Linked DNA regions of Homo sapiens: regions 1 and 2 are each linked to region 3. The links are contacts of gene promoters, found by promoter capture Hi-C in human tissues and cell types (Jung and others, 2019). All regions are on one chromosome and are shown on one strand. The core of a region is centred on a gene start or on the middle of the fragment in contact, and the rest is flanking DNA. Distances in the headings are between cores, read along the strand shown. Region 1 overlaps SMAD2 (SMAD family member 2). Region 2 has its middle 78 kb from the start of SMAD2. Region 3 holds the start of ZBTB7C (zinc finger and BTB domain containing 7C).

Region 1 (3,788 bases), core at 1-2,500, 490 kb before region 3:
CAGATGTTTCAATGATACCAGAACACTTTTCATTTTTTAATTTTTTTAAGCACACAGTTCCCACAGTTCTGTCTCCTTTCATTGAATGGCATTATAACCTCAGCCCCAACTACTGAATCTTATCTCTAGTAAATCCCCCAAGGCCACACTTCCCTTAAAGTTGACTGATTTTTCTAAGTTTCTAGTACCTGGGCACTTTCTCTCTCAAGATCAACTGTATACATAAGAGAAAACTTTTATATTTTATCCAACATTTTCATCTGTTTACAGTAAGAAGAATGGGCCTAACTTGTGTCTGTGTCATTTTAAGAAATTTAGATAAAGACAGTATAAACAATAACAGCAAACACTGAAGAAAGTATGATCACTGAGAAAAGACTGCTAAACTTGACAGTTCATCCGGAAGGCCAGTAGGAAGGGAAATGTGAAAAAGAATGGTTAAAAAATATGTTTGCAAAGTTGAAGTCAAGAACAGATAGTGATTAAATGTAGAAAGCAAAAGTAGATTGCACTTTTAAAAGGTATGGAGGGAAGAGAAATTTCAAATCTTCAAACTGCAGGAAAATACAAAATATTCCCCAAATACCTATGTGAATTTTTATTTAGAAAGAAAACCAAAGTTAATTATTTCAACAAAAATACTTTAAATATGATGGTGCTGCCTCATCTAGAACATCTAAGGTCCCACTAGAAATAATATAAAATCACTGTGCAGTCAATCCTCCTTATCTGTGGGTTCCAAATACATGGATTAAACCAACCATGGATAAAAAATATTCAGGAAAAAACTGTGACTGTACTGAACATGTACAGACTTTTTTCTCATCATTTCTAAAACAATATAGAATAACAACTATTTACATTGTATTAGATATTAAGTAATCTAGAGAGGATTTAAAGAATAACAATAAAATGTGCATAAAACAAATTCTACACCATTTTATACAAGGGACTTCAGCGTTCTCATATTCTGGTGCTTGCAGGAGAGTCCCGGAACCAATCCTCTGTGGAGACCGAGATTTTTAGCAATCTATGTTCAAACATACTACAAGGCAGAGAAAAAAACAGCAGCATCAATGACCTGGAATTGTATAACTGTTTTAGTCAAATAAATAATTCATTAGTAACCAGGATAATAGAAAACCTCAAAAAAATTAAAATACATAAAACCCAATTTTTTAAAAACAGATTTTTCAATTCTCACTACAACTATGTTCTCTCCAAAGCGTAAGCTAGTAAGGAAAGACACTGCCAACTGGAAACCTAGGTCGGCCCCCATGGAGAATGATGGGTCATGTCTTTTAAACAAAAGCAAACAGAAAACATTCATGTGTTCAACTTTATGGACTGTCAAACCTAATGCAAGCTTGAATTTAATTCAAGAAAATTATTATTTTAGCAAAAGTCCACATTAAATAGGGACTGCTGTGTAAAGAGACTACTTATTTTTTTTTTTTTAACTAAGAGTTATATTCCTATCACCTATAATGAGTTTTGTGGAATCCACAACTCTATAATCAACTTGTAAACACGTAACTTACATATTGGTTTATCATTCCCAGATTATTAAAAAAAAAAAAAAAGCACCTATGACAACACTACACAGGCCCAGACTCAAATCAGCACAAATATAAAGTACAAGTACTCTAATTGCTCTTCAAATTCCCAAAGTCTATCCTGACCCTCTTCTGAAGCAGCAACTAATACCACGTCAATTCACGTGAGTGGGGTCCTCAGGCCATAAAAGCTCAATTAAAGCAAAGTCTAGAGTAGTGCCACCCAACACAACTTTATACAATGATGTAAATGTCCTTGGGTATCTGTGCTGTCTAATACAGTAGCCATCAGCTGCATATGGCTATCTAAATTTAGATTAAGTAAAATTTAACATTCAGTTTCTCAGTCACAGCAGCCACATTTCAAGTGCTAAATAGCCACATGTGGCTGGCAGCTACCTGTTAAGATAGAGCAGGTCTACAGCAAAAATTTCTCCAAGACCTACTGTTCTTCAGCTGTGCTTCAAAGGCTTCCTGGTGGTGAGGATGAGAGGAAAACTGATCAGGCAGGACTTCAACAACTGCCTATTCTTCCTTCCACAAAACAGCTTTACTCCTTTTATCTGTTTTACATTTCGAAATTCTGCATATTTCTCTCTAAAGGCTTTCTAGTTGCTGCTGTGTGTGCAGGTGTGCACATGTTTTAAGTCTGACTACTACTGGTTTCGAGCAGAAATGGCCAATGCACAACCTCAGGCCAAAGCTGGACCCTCCTGATAACTAAAACATTTTTTAAAAAAAAGTTTAATTGATCAGCTAACATGAACTACAACCTAACTACCTGTCTATTAAGAATTTTAGGCCGGGCGCAGTGGCTCACGCATGTAATCCCAACACTTTGGGAGGCCAAGGTGGGCGAATCACCTGAGGTCAGGAGTTCGAGACCAGCCTGACCAACATGGTGAAACCCCGTTTCTATTAAAAATACAAAATTAGCCGGACATGGTGGCGCATGCCTGTAATCCTAGCTACTCAGGAGGCTGAGGCAGGAGAACTGCTTGAACCTAGGAGGCGGAGGTTGCAGTGAGCCAAGATCGCACCACTGCACTCCAGCCTGGGCAACAGGAGCAAAACTCCGTCTCAAAAAAAAAAAAAAAAAGAATTTTAAAAGTGGATCTCAATAAGGAAAATTTACATTTACTACCACAGATAAAGTATCTCTAGTCAACAAAAGAGTTTCAATAGTTCACTCAAGTCAAGGCAGAAGGCTCACGGGCCCAGCTTCCACTGCATCATTTATGAGGATTTTATATAGGAGGCTCTGCAAAAAAGATTTGCCACCCCACATTTTCTTTTTTTTCTTTTTTTTTTTTGAGACGGAGTCTTGCTCTGTCTCCCAGGCTGGAGAGCAGTCGCGGGATCTCGGCTAACTGCAACCTCGGCCTCCCCGGTTCAAGCAAGTCTCCTACCTCAGCCTCTTGAGCAGCTGGGACTACAGGTACCCGCCACCACACCCAGCTAATTTTTGCATTTTTAGTAGAGACAAGGTTTCACCATGTTGGCCAGGCTGGTCTCAAACTCCTGACCTCAAAGTGATCCGCCCGCCTCAGCCTCCCAAAGTGCTGGGATTACAGGCGTGAGCCACTGCCTCCGGCCTCACCACCTCACATTCTGAAATGAAAGACGTGATGAGGATGGAACGTTTCCTTGATATTTACAAGACCTTAACCATTATGTCTCTACAGAATTTCTGGAAGTAGCTGAAGCAGCATATGAAAATGTAGTTTACTTTTAAACATAGGCAAACTATAAGATCACAGATTCACTATGCTACTTCCTCAGATCAAGAGTCTTTTTTGACTTAAGAGACTCAAACTAATGAACAGATGGAATACCAGTGGTTCACCCAAGATTATTCCTACTGAATACATTAAATGTGAAACTACATCCCCCTTCCCCACAAAATGAGGGAAGGTATGACACTGTAGATTATTCAAGGAAATGCAAATTTTTACATTAAGGTAGACACGTGTACTAAACAGAAGCAACTAAAGTCTATCCTCGCTTTCCACTACTCTACAGCCTTGAGGCCAATGTAAAACCAGATTTTGAAAAATGACAGGGCTACCTAGGATAATTAGTGACAATTTCACAGTAAATTCACAAACTTTGATAAGAATTAATCACGTCAGAATTTCTATTTTCTTAAGACTACAAACCTAAAGATACATCAAGCACCTGTCCTATCAATGTGCCTCAGTTACAAATAAGAGGAACCCACTGAGCCAAGGA
Region 2 (4,299 bases), core at 817-3,316, 400 kb before region 3:
TGAGTGTCCTGCTGGACTCTACAAGGCCACCCTCAGCGTGTCAGTTTCTGGGAAAAAGGTGGGTAATCCTAGGAGACTCTCTGGACGTCTCCTTCTTGGGACTGGCCTTGGGAGGCGGAAGGGGACCTGCTGTGGCCCACTGGGAAGTGGGCTGTGGCGCAAAGATAAATGGGCCCATGGAGCTGACCAGACAGGCAGTGTCTGCAAATGCAGAGGGTCTAGATCAGGGGTGTCCAGTCTTTTGGCTTCCCTGGGTCCCAATGGAAGAAGAATTGTCTTAGGCCACATATAAGATACACTAAGACTAACGATAGCTGAGTAACTTTTTAAATATCACAAAAAAACACATTCGTACTGTTTGAAGAAATTTTACGAATTTGTGTTGGGCCGCATTCAAAGCCATCCTGGGCCTCACGCGGCCAGAGGCCGCGGGTTGGACAAGCTTGGTCTGGATTCAGGAGGGTCTGCCTCTGTTTCCCCCCATCATTCTTGACCCCCGTTGAGGTGTTAGTGGATGCTCCGGCCGGGTTTCAGCCAAACACCTGGGTTCAGGCTGAGGTCCATGCTCAGCTTCGGGCCAGGGCACTGGAGCAGGAGTGGCACTGAGGGCCTGTCCTCACCAGGGTCTCCTTCCTTTGCCACCTTAGGCAGCTCTGGGATGTTTTATAGGGGAAAGTGGCATCTCCTCCCCTGCCCATGAGGAGGGTGGTGCTGAGTAAAGGTAGCCTCTGCGGGCAGGAGATGGCAGGGACCATGGGACCCAGCAGAGTGAGGGGTGCTGAGGGGTCTCAGAGCAGAGAGACTCCCTTGTTCTGACCCTCTCCAGCTGACTGCAGGTCCGCGAGCCTGGGGGCCCGGACGCTCCTCCATGTGCTTTTCTGCCCCACTACTAACTTCAGTCCACATCACAGCCTCCGAGAGTGGGGCTTCTGGGGCCATCCCCTCTGTGCTCTCCGCAAGCACCATTCTGCGGGACTTTGTAGAGTGACCCGAAGCTTCCGCTCCCTAGCCCTGTGCTCTTCCCCTCTCCAGTCCATCTCGGCCGGGAGTCGGGTCTCTGCCAGCCCAGCGCTCGGAATGGAGCTTTGTGGGGCTGGGGAAGCAACCTTTGCCAATGGGAAGGGGGTGTCACAGCGCCTCATTCCCTCCCAGCTTGCGCTCCTCGGAATAATCTCCAACAGCGTGCCTAGAAGCACAGCTGCTTTTGTTTCGGGCGTCGGTGCTTCCCAGAATCCCGGTGCCCGGACCCAGCCGCCGAACCGACCCCGCCCCGCCGCGGGCTTTGTTCCCTGCGCTGCGCACTGCGAGCGGCGGCCACGCGGGGGCGCTGGGCCGGGGGCGGGGGCCAGGGCTGGGGGTGGGGCGCGCCCCCGGGCCACCTCCCCCGCCCCTCCCGGCTCCTCCCCGCTCCTCCTCCCATGCCCCGGCCCCCGCCTCGCAGCTGGGCTCGGACTCAGGCTTAGCCGCAGTCTGTGAGCCTCCTCCCCGCACCTGGCCGGCCAGGCCAGCCCAGCCTACTTGTCTCGCTGCGCCCGGCTGCTGCCTCCGCTCCAGGGGTCGGCGCCGGGACCTCCTCCTCCGCCGCCGGCCCGCCCGCGTCTACACCGCACACCCGTGGCGCGCCCTCCAGGGGCGGTTTTTCTCCCGGGGTCCTAAGTCTCACTCTACCTGCTTCACGCTTAGTGGTCCTGTAGAAATACAGACGCGTCGTAGGCACTTAGTAAATGTCTGTTGAATGACTGTGTGTAAGCACTCGTCCGTTCTTTACCACACCTCATTTTTAAAGTTAATGGACGTTATTTTTTTCAAGCAATTTTAGATTCACAATAAAATTGAGCCAAAAGTACAAAAAGTTTCATTTCCCCCCTGTACCCACCCCCGAACAACCTCCCCCACTCTCGACCTCCAGACCAGGGCATGCATTGGTTGCCATTGTGAACCTACACTGCCACATCAGGGTCACCCAAAGTCCACAGTTTTCTTTAGGGTTCACCCTTGGTGCTGTACACTCCATGGGTATGACATGTGTAAGGCCATGTCATTCCGGTATCACACAGCATTTTCACTGCTCCAGAAATTCAACCCTCCGTCTTTCCAACTCCTGGCAACTCCTGCTCTTTTTACTGTCTCCATAGTTTTATGGAATCATGCTAATTTTCACAACCATCCAAGAGGTAGGAACTCTTCCCCTTTTGCCCTTGAAGACACTGAGGCTCAGGGATGTTGCCAGGGCCCTGTCAGCTTCCTGATAGGAAAGCCACTAAATTCCAATCGGCTACCAGTTTTCCTGCAACCCTGGCCTGGGATACTCTCCTGAACAATGAAGCCAGTAATGGCATGACCACAGCGCTGTCCCACCCTGGCCAGCAAACAGGCTCCCTCAGGGGACTCCACTCCTCTACCTGGACACTTCTGCAGGCGGGAAGTGGGTAAGGAGTGACAGGTGTGGACTGCCTTGCTTGGCTTCTGGGAGGAGCCATTTGTGCCTGCTGCCAGGCCTGCTGAAACATTACTAGGCTGGGCGGAAGTACAGATGGAAGCCCTGGTCGGTGGTCTGCCCCTTCCTTTCCCTAGCCCAGGCTCTGACTTCGCCGTAAGGATCTTGCAGAGCAGGCATGGACACCCAGCCTGCAGCCCAAGCTCCATCCCCACCCGAGAGCCAAACACCCCCCAGGCTAATCCTCAGGCCCGGTAGTGTGTACACTGGTGAGAGCAGACAGCTGCGGGAAGAGGACCTGCAGAGGCCCTAAAGTGGGCCCCTGACGGGAGGCAGAGCTCAGATAATAATTTTCGTCCATGTGGGCCCCAGGACCTTTGGGCAGGGCCCTGGGTACCTGAAGCATGATCCGAAAGGGAGGGCATGAGCTCCAGGTGGGCATGTCCCTTGACTTTGTGCTAGGGTTACCAGATTTAGTAAATTAAAACAGGAGTCCCCAACCCCTGGGCGTGGACCTATTCTGGTCCATGGCCTGTTAGGAAGTGGGCTGCATAGCAGGAGGTGAACAGCAGGTGGATGAGGATTACTATCTGAGCTCTGCCTCCTGTCAGATCATCAGGCATTAGAGTTTCATAGGAGCGAGAACCCTATTGTGAACTGTGCATGCGAGGGATCTAGGTTTCCTGCTCCTTATGAGGATCTAACTAATGCTTGATGATCTGAGGTGGAACAGTTTCATCCTGAAACCAAACCTGTGCCCTGTCTGTGGAAAAATTGTCTTCCGTGAAACTGGCCCATGGTGCCAAAAAAAGTTGGGGACCGCTGAATTAAAACACAGGACACCCATTTAAATTTGAATTTTAGATAATTGCATTAGTCTGTTTTCACATTGCTGATAAGACATACCCAAGACAGGGGAATTTCCAAAAGAAAGAGGTTTAATGGACTTACATCTCCACATGGCTGGGGAAGCCTCACAATCATGGCAGAAGGCAAGGAGGAGCAAGTTATGTCTTACATGGATGGCAGCAGACAACGAGACAGAGTTTGTACAGGGGAACTCTTCTTTTTAAAACCACCAGATCTGGTGACACTTATTGGCTCTCACAAGAACAGCACGCAAAATCCTGCCCCCATAATTCAATTACCTCCAGCCAGGCCCCTCCCACAACATGTGGGAATTCAAGATGAGATTTGGGTGGGGACACAGCCAAACCATATCAATAATCAACAAATAATATTTTAATAGTAGTATGTCCCAAATGTATACTTATACCCCCCAAATTATTTGTTTATCTGAAATTCAAATTTAATTGGGCATCCTGTATTTTATCTGCCAACCCTGCCTTGTGGACTCCTGACCCGTGGGGAGAGAGACAGCAGGAGGAGGACCCGAGTGGAGTCCTCAAAAGTATGGGGCTTGGGCAGGGGCCTCAGTCCTCTGTGCTGAGGCTGTCCTGGCTGCATGTTTCAATATCCTGAAATTGCAGCAAGGTTCTGGCTTCTAGGGGTCCTGGGAACAAGGTCCTTGTCAGGAGCTGGCTCCGCTCAGTAGGAGACCAGGGTGGTTTGACAATAAACTTTGCCATTGAAGCTTCTGGAATGCAGGTGTGTTGGGTGAAGGCTGGGGAGGCAACAGATAGTGTGAGGAGGTGGGGAGGTAGGATGGGGACAGGAAAGTAAGCTTGCAGCTGCTGCCTCCATCTTGGTCCTTCCAAGGTTAAAGAAGGTCAGGGGTATGGGGAGAGGTTTTGGGGAGAGATGGGGGGACAGGAGGGACACAGCGGCAAATCCCTGCACTGCCAGGGTGAAAGTGCACTGTGGTTGTGCAGCCTGCTTTCCTGGCTGAAATGTTCCTTTCA
Region 3 (4,168 bases), core at 1,419-3,918:
GTGTCCTTGAAAGCAATCAAACTTACAAAATATTCTCTCTTGCAAGTCATTTCTGACTAATACAGATTGACACACATTGCATCCAGCTTATTTTCATAAAATTCTGCTGGACTGTATATGACATTATAGACTGAAATCTAGCATCGCCCTAGAGTATTATGGTTTTGGAGGAAAAAGTTCACATAACAATCACTCTGGTTATCATTCAATTCCTTCCTGCTCATACACACTGGTACAAAATAAGTGGCTAAAATCAAAGTGGCCAACTCGTAGTTCTTTTTTAATTTAGACACTTTGTTTGCTCAATAAAATACAGAGTAAAAAACATTTACTGAAAACCCACTCATTGATGTTTAATGGCTGTGTCAAATACTCATAACAACATTTATTCCAACACCCCCAGATAATTGCTCATCTTTCTCATTTGGTATCCACAACAGCACAGCATTTGTGTCCAAGTGTAATTGATCCAAAATTGGGCTCCCTTTCAAAAATATCTGTAAAATCTAATTACCAGGAAAACAGAGTTCTGGCATCCTATGGAAAGTGGGTGCTTCAGTGAAAAAAAGCTGCAAATTCTTCTTGGCTAATCAAGCTGCATTGTGTTACAAAAGGAGTTTGAGGAATTTGGGATAATGAGGGAGCAGGAAAAGTTGGGATAGTGTCAGACTGGACTTTGCAGTGACAGTCCTGGTTTTTTTAAGCCAAGGGCACGGGACGGGAAATATACCACATTCGCTGGCAAGCATGGATTTAGAAAGTACCAGATAAAGAGGCCATGATGGGCTTGGGGTGTGGGGGTGGCATTTCTGATCTCAAGCCCTACCAGGCCTTGCCCAGGGAAGTCTCTCCACCCTTGCCTGGAAGGCTGATGTCATTTCTAGTCTCACTGGGCCTCTAGCCACTGTAGCAGGTCACTTTCCTTCCTTGGGCCTGAGTTTGCTCATCTGTAAAATGAGTGCTCCTAATATCTCTAGGGTCTCTTTCAACTTCAAAATCCTATGACCTTCTATAAAGCAAAGGGCATGCTTTTTGCTCATGTACTTGTGGGGGCAGGGAGCGGGAGCCACCGGACCAAGGAGAATGAAGGACTGAGAGTTTCCACCTCTCACGCAGTTTTGTACCTAGTTTCAACACCCGGGTATCTGGCCCGCTCTGGGAATAATGATTTCTTTCAGCCCAGGACGACCTACCGAGGTGTTTCTACCTCGCTGCCCTGGATTCCTCAACCCCGCCAATGAAGAACAGGGCCAAGCCACCGGACTTCTCGGAGCCTCTCTCCCAGGTCTGGGCACAGTATATCTTCTTTTAAGGGGTCTTCCCTTCCCACTCCCACTCCTCTTTCTGTCCTAGAAGCACCAGAAACTCCGGCTCTAGCCTTGCGCATGGTCCAGCGAGACTTCCCATACAGGCAGCGCACGCCACCCACCCCCAGCTCCCCTCGGCCTTGCGCCCGCGCCGCGGAAGGTTGGGTACCAGCCTCCACAGCTTTGCAGATTGCAAAGATAACGGGAGCTGCCGCTTCGCTTTTCTTTGGCTCCTCCTGGCCTTCATCCTAGTAAAACCAGACAAGCAACCGGAAAAACAAAGCAGCACAGCGGCCAGAGACAATTCGCTTTCAACGGAGCAAGAGACGTACACACCTTGAGAGAAGACGCACGCAGTTCCCGTGCGTGTCGCTGGGAACAGACCTCGCACTACCCCGCGCGGCGACAGGCACCGGGCCAGGCTCGGCTTCACTTGTCCGAGGCTTGGAGGAACTGTGTGCGTGCGCCCATTTCCCCCAGCTTCCCGACTTGACAGCAGCAAGGATCTTTGAGTCCTGCATGAGCGACACCTCGGGCAAGGACTGTACTCTGCTCAGATCTCATCGAGAGGTGCTGGATCCCAGCCTTTCCAGCTCATTTTCCAATTTTCAAGAAAAGACAGCGCGAAGTGAGACTGCAAAAGTCCCAGGAAAACGTCACTCACCAAAACGCTCCCGCGCCTTCCAGGCAGAAGTGCGGTAAAACTTTTGGCAGAAACCACCTGTGGCTGCCGACGGGCCCGCCCCGCTCGGGCCCGCAGGCGCCGCCGAGCCCCGGGCCGCACGCGCCCGCAGAAGTTCCTTTCCAGCCCCGCGCGCCACTTCGCTCCGGGCCGCGGTGCCAGCCAGGAGGCGCGGCGCCCGCTCGCTGGCTCGCTCTCCGCTGGCTCTCCCCTCCCTCCTTCCCTCCCTCCCTCCTCCCGCCTCCTCCGTTGCATGGCTGCCGCACGGAGCCCCTGAATAGCCACCGCAGCCCCCCGCCTCCTGCCCACCGCGCGGAGGGCGCCCCTGCTCCAGCCGGCGCCCCAAGGCGCGCGGACCGCCGGCCTCCTAGCAACGGCCCCCGCAATCGCTTTCCGGCGCAGCCCAAGCAAAGCCACCCGCCCGCCGCCCCGCGACCTCCCGAACTGCCTCGGCTGCCGAGGTGCTGTGGAGATCGCGACCCCGGCAGCCGGCGCCCGAGCCCGGCGCGCGAAGCCGCTCACCTCCGCGCGCCGCCGGCCCTGCGCGCCTCCCGCACTTGGCTCCGGGACGCAGTCCTGGCGTCCTCCTTCGCCGCCGGTGTCCGCCGGTCCCTGCGCGCCCGAGCCTCGCCGGCCGCGCCGCTGTCAGAGTCTCGTGGCGGGGCTGCGCCGGCGGGTATGGAGCTGAGCGGCGGCAGCGGGCGAGCGGGCAGCTCCTCCCTCCCCGCGCCGCGCCTCCGCCCTCCCCGCGCCCCGCCTCCCGCGCCGCGGCTGTCAGCCCCGCGCCCCGCGCCCCGCGCCCGCGCCGCCGGCTCGGGGGGCGCACAGGGCTAAAGGGCCCGGATGTGTGCGGTCGCCTGTCGCTCGCGCCCGCCCCCTCCCCGCCGCGCGGCACATGCACTTGCTGCGCCGCAGCCCCCGCCCGGCTCCGCTAATTTCTATTTTGACAGTAACTGTGGCGAGTGGGCGGCGCGGCGGGGGGCGCCCGGGACTGGCGGAGGCTGCGGGCGGGAGTCAGGACCCGACGCGGAGGCGGAGTGGGGGGGCCGGGCACCGCCACCAACCGCTCGGGGCTCCGCGTCTTTTCTCTTTCTTTCCTTTTTTCTCTCTGCCTCCTCCAGGATTTAAAGGGACAGCCCCGGCAGAGGCGAGGGGGCCAGGCGGCCGCCGTTTCTCCGGTCTCCTGACGCCCTCTGCGGCCCGGCCGGACCCGCCCGCACCCCCAGCGCAGGCTTGGGACCGCCGGGTATTTTTAGGTCCACACCCGACCCGGGGCAGCGGTGCGGCAGAGATGGGCTCTGCCGACCCGGGGCAGCGGTGCGGCAGAGATGGGCTCTGCCGCCCCGGCGCACGGCTATTTTTACAGAGTCCGATGGGGGAGGAAATAAAACAACTCGGCAACTGCTTTTCTACCCGAAAGTCGGGAGCAAGGAGTGGGGGCGAGAAGTTAAGTTTCCCAAATGCTCTCGGCACTCCAGCGAGCGCACCAAGACGCCTAGCCAGCACCTGAAACCGCAAGCTTGCCGCACCCCGGGGCGCCGAATCTCAGCGGGCAATCGCGCTCGGCGGCGCTGCGGCCCGGAGTCCCCACCCCTCTGGAGCCTTGGGCCCCGCACTCCGCACCCCACACGCCGGGGAGCAGCCGCTGGCCGCCCGTCACTCCCCGGGTCGGCCTGGAAGGCGGCCTTCCGAAGCGTCCAATCACCGCGCAACAATGCCAACGGGCGGGCCCGGGGAGGGCTTGTCCCCGCCCCGTCCCGCCGGGCCCCGCCCCCTCGGAGTCTGTCGGGGCAGGAGAATCTCGCTGGGACGCCGAGTGCTCAGCGGTGCTGGAAGCCACGAAGGGCCAGTGCGAGGGGAGGAGGAAGGGTCCTGGCCCTGGAGAGGGCGTGAGCGTTCTCGGGCGAGGCGACACTTGGGCAGATGTTCCCTCCAGCTACGGGCCGGGGAAACTCGAGCTGGCTTTGCCTCCTACCTTTTTGCAGTCCACCCCTCTGCGCTCCAGACAGACATAGGAACCCTCGCCCTCCTTGGTAGTACATCGGAGGCAGCACCCTCGCACGTCAGCGGGTCCTCTCCGGGGCTCCTCCCTCAGAAGCGGGAAAGTTTGTCGTCCTCAAACTCCTACCCGGCTGCGCTTATCTGAGGCGCACCTGGCGCCCAGGAGAGGCGAGATGGC

The links. The method cuts DNA at HindIII sites, captures the fragments that hold promoters and counts their contacts. A contact is called where the count stands out against the background at its distance.
Region 1: a contact is called between a fragment that was not itself captured here and the fragment with the promoter of ZBTB7C in region 3, in 1 of the 25 tissues and cell types used here (heart left ventricle).
Region 2: a fragment that was not itself captured here is called in contact with the fragment with the promoter of ZBTB7C in region 3 in 2 of the 25 tissues and cell types used here (dorsolateral prefrontal cortex and heart left ventricle).

The regions. Positions count from the first base shown.
Region 1 is chr18:47,921,611-47,925,398 of GRCh38, forward strand. All of the region lies in intron 1 of SMAD2 (SMAD family member 2), which reads right to left. Among named protein-coding and RNA genes, the nearest start is that of SMAD2, 7.2 kb to the right of the region's middle. The HindIII fragment of the contact is 8,124 bases long and covers 1-3,788 here.
Region 2 is chr18:48,007,001-48,011,299 of GRCh38, forward strand. No RefSeq gene overlaps it. Among named protein-coding and RNA genes, the nearest start is that of SMAD2, 78 kb to the left of the region's middle. RefSeq lists an enhancer at 642-1,555 and silencers at 1,231-1,340, 1,351-1,400. The HindIII fragment of the contact is 4,020 bases long and covers 57-4,076 here.
Region 3 is chr18:48,406,715-48,410,882 of GRCh38, forward strand. ZBTB7C (zinc finger and BTB domain containing 7C) reads right to left here and starts at 2,669. Exons shown (of 5, transcript NM_001318841.2): 1 at 2,512-2,669. RefSeq lists enhancers at 950-1,569, 1,570-2,187 and a silencer at 3,458-3,837. The HindIII fragment of the contact is 7,054 bases long and covers 109-4,168 here.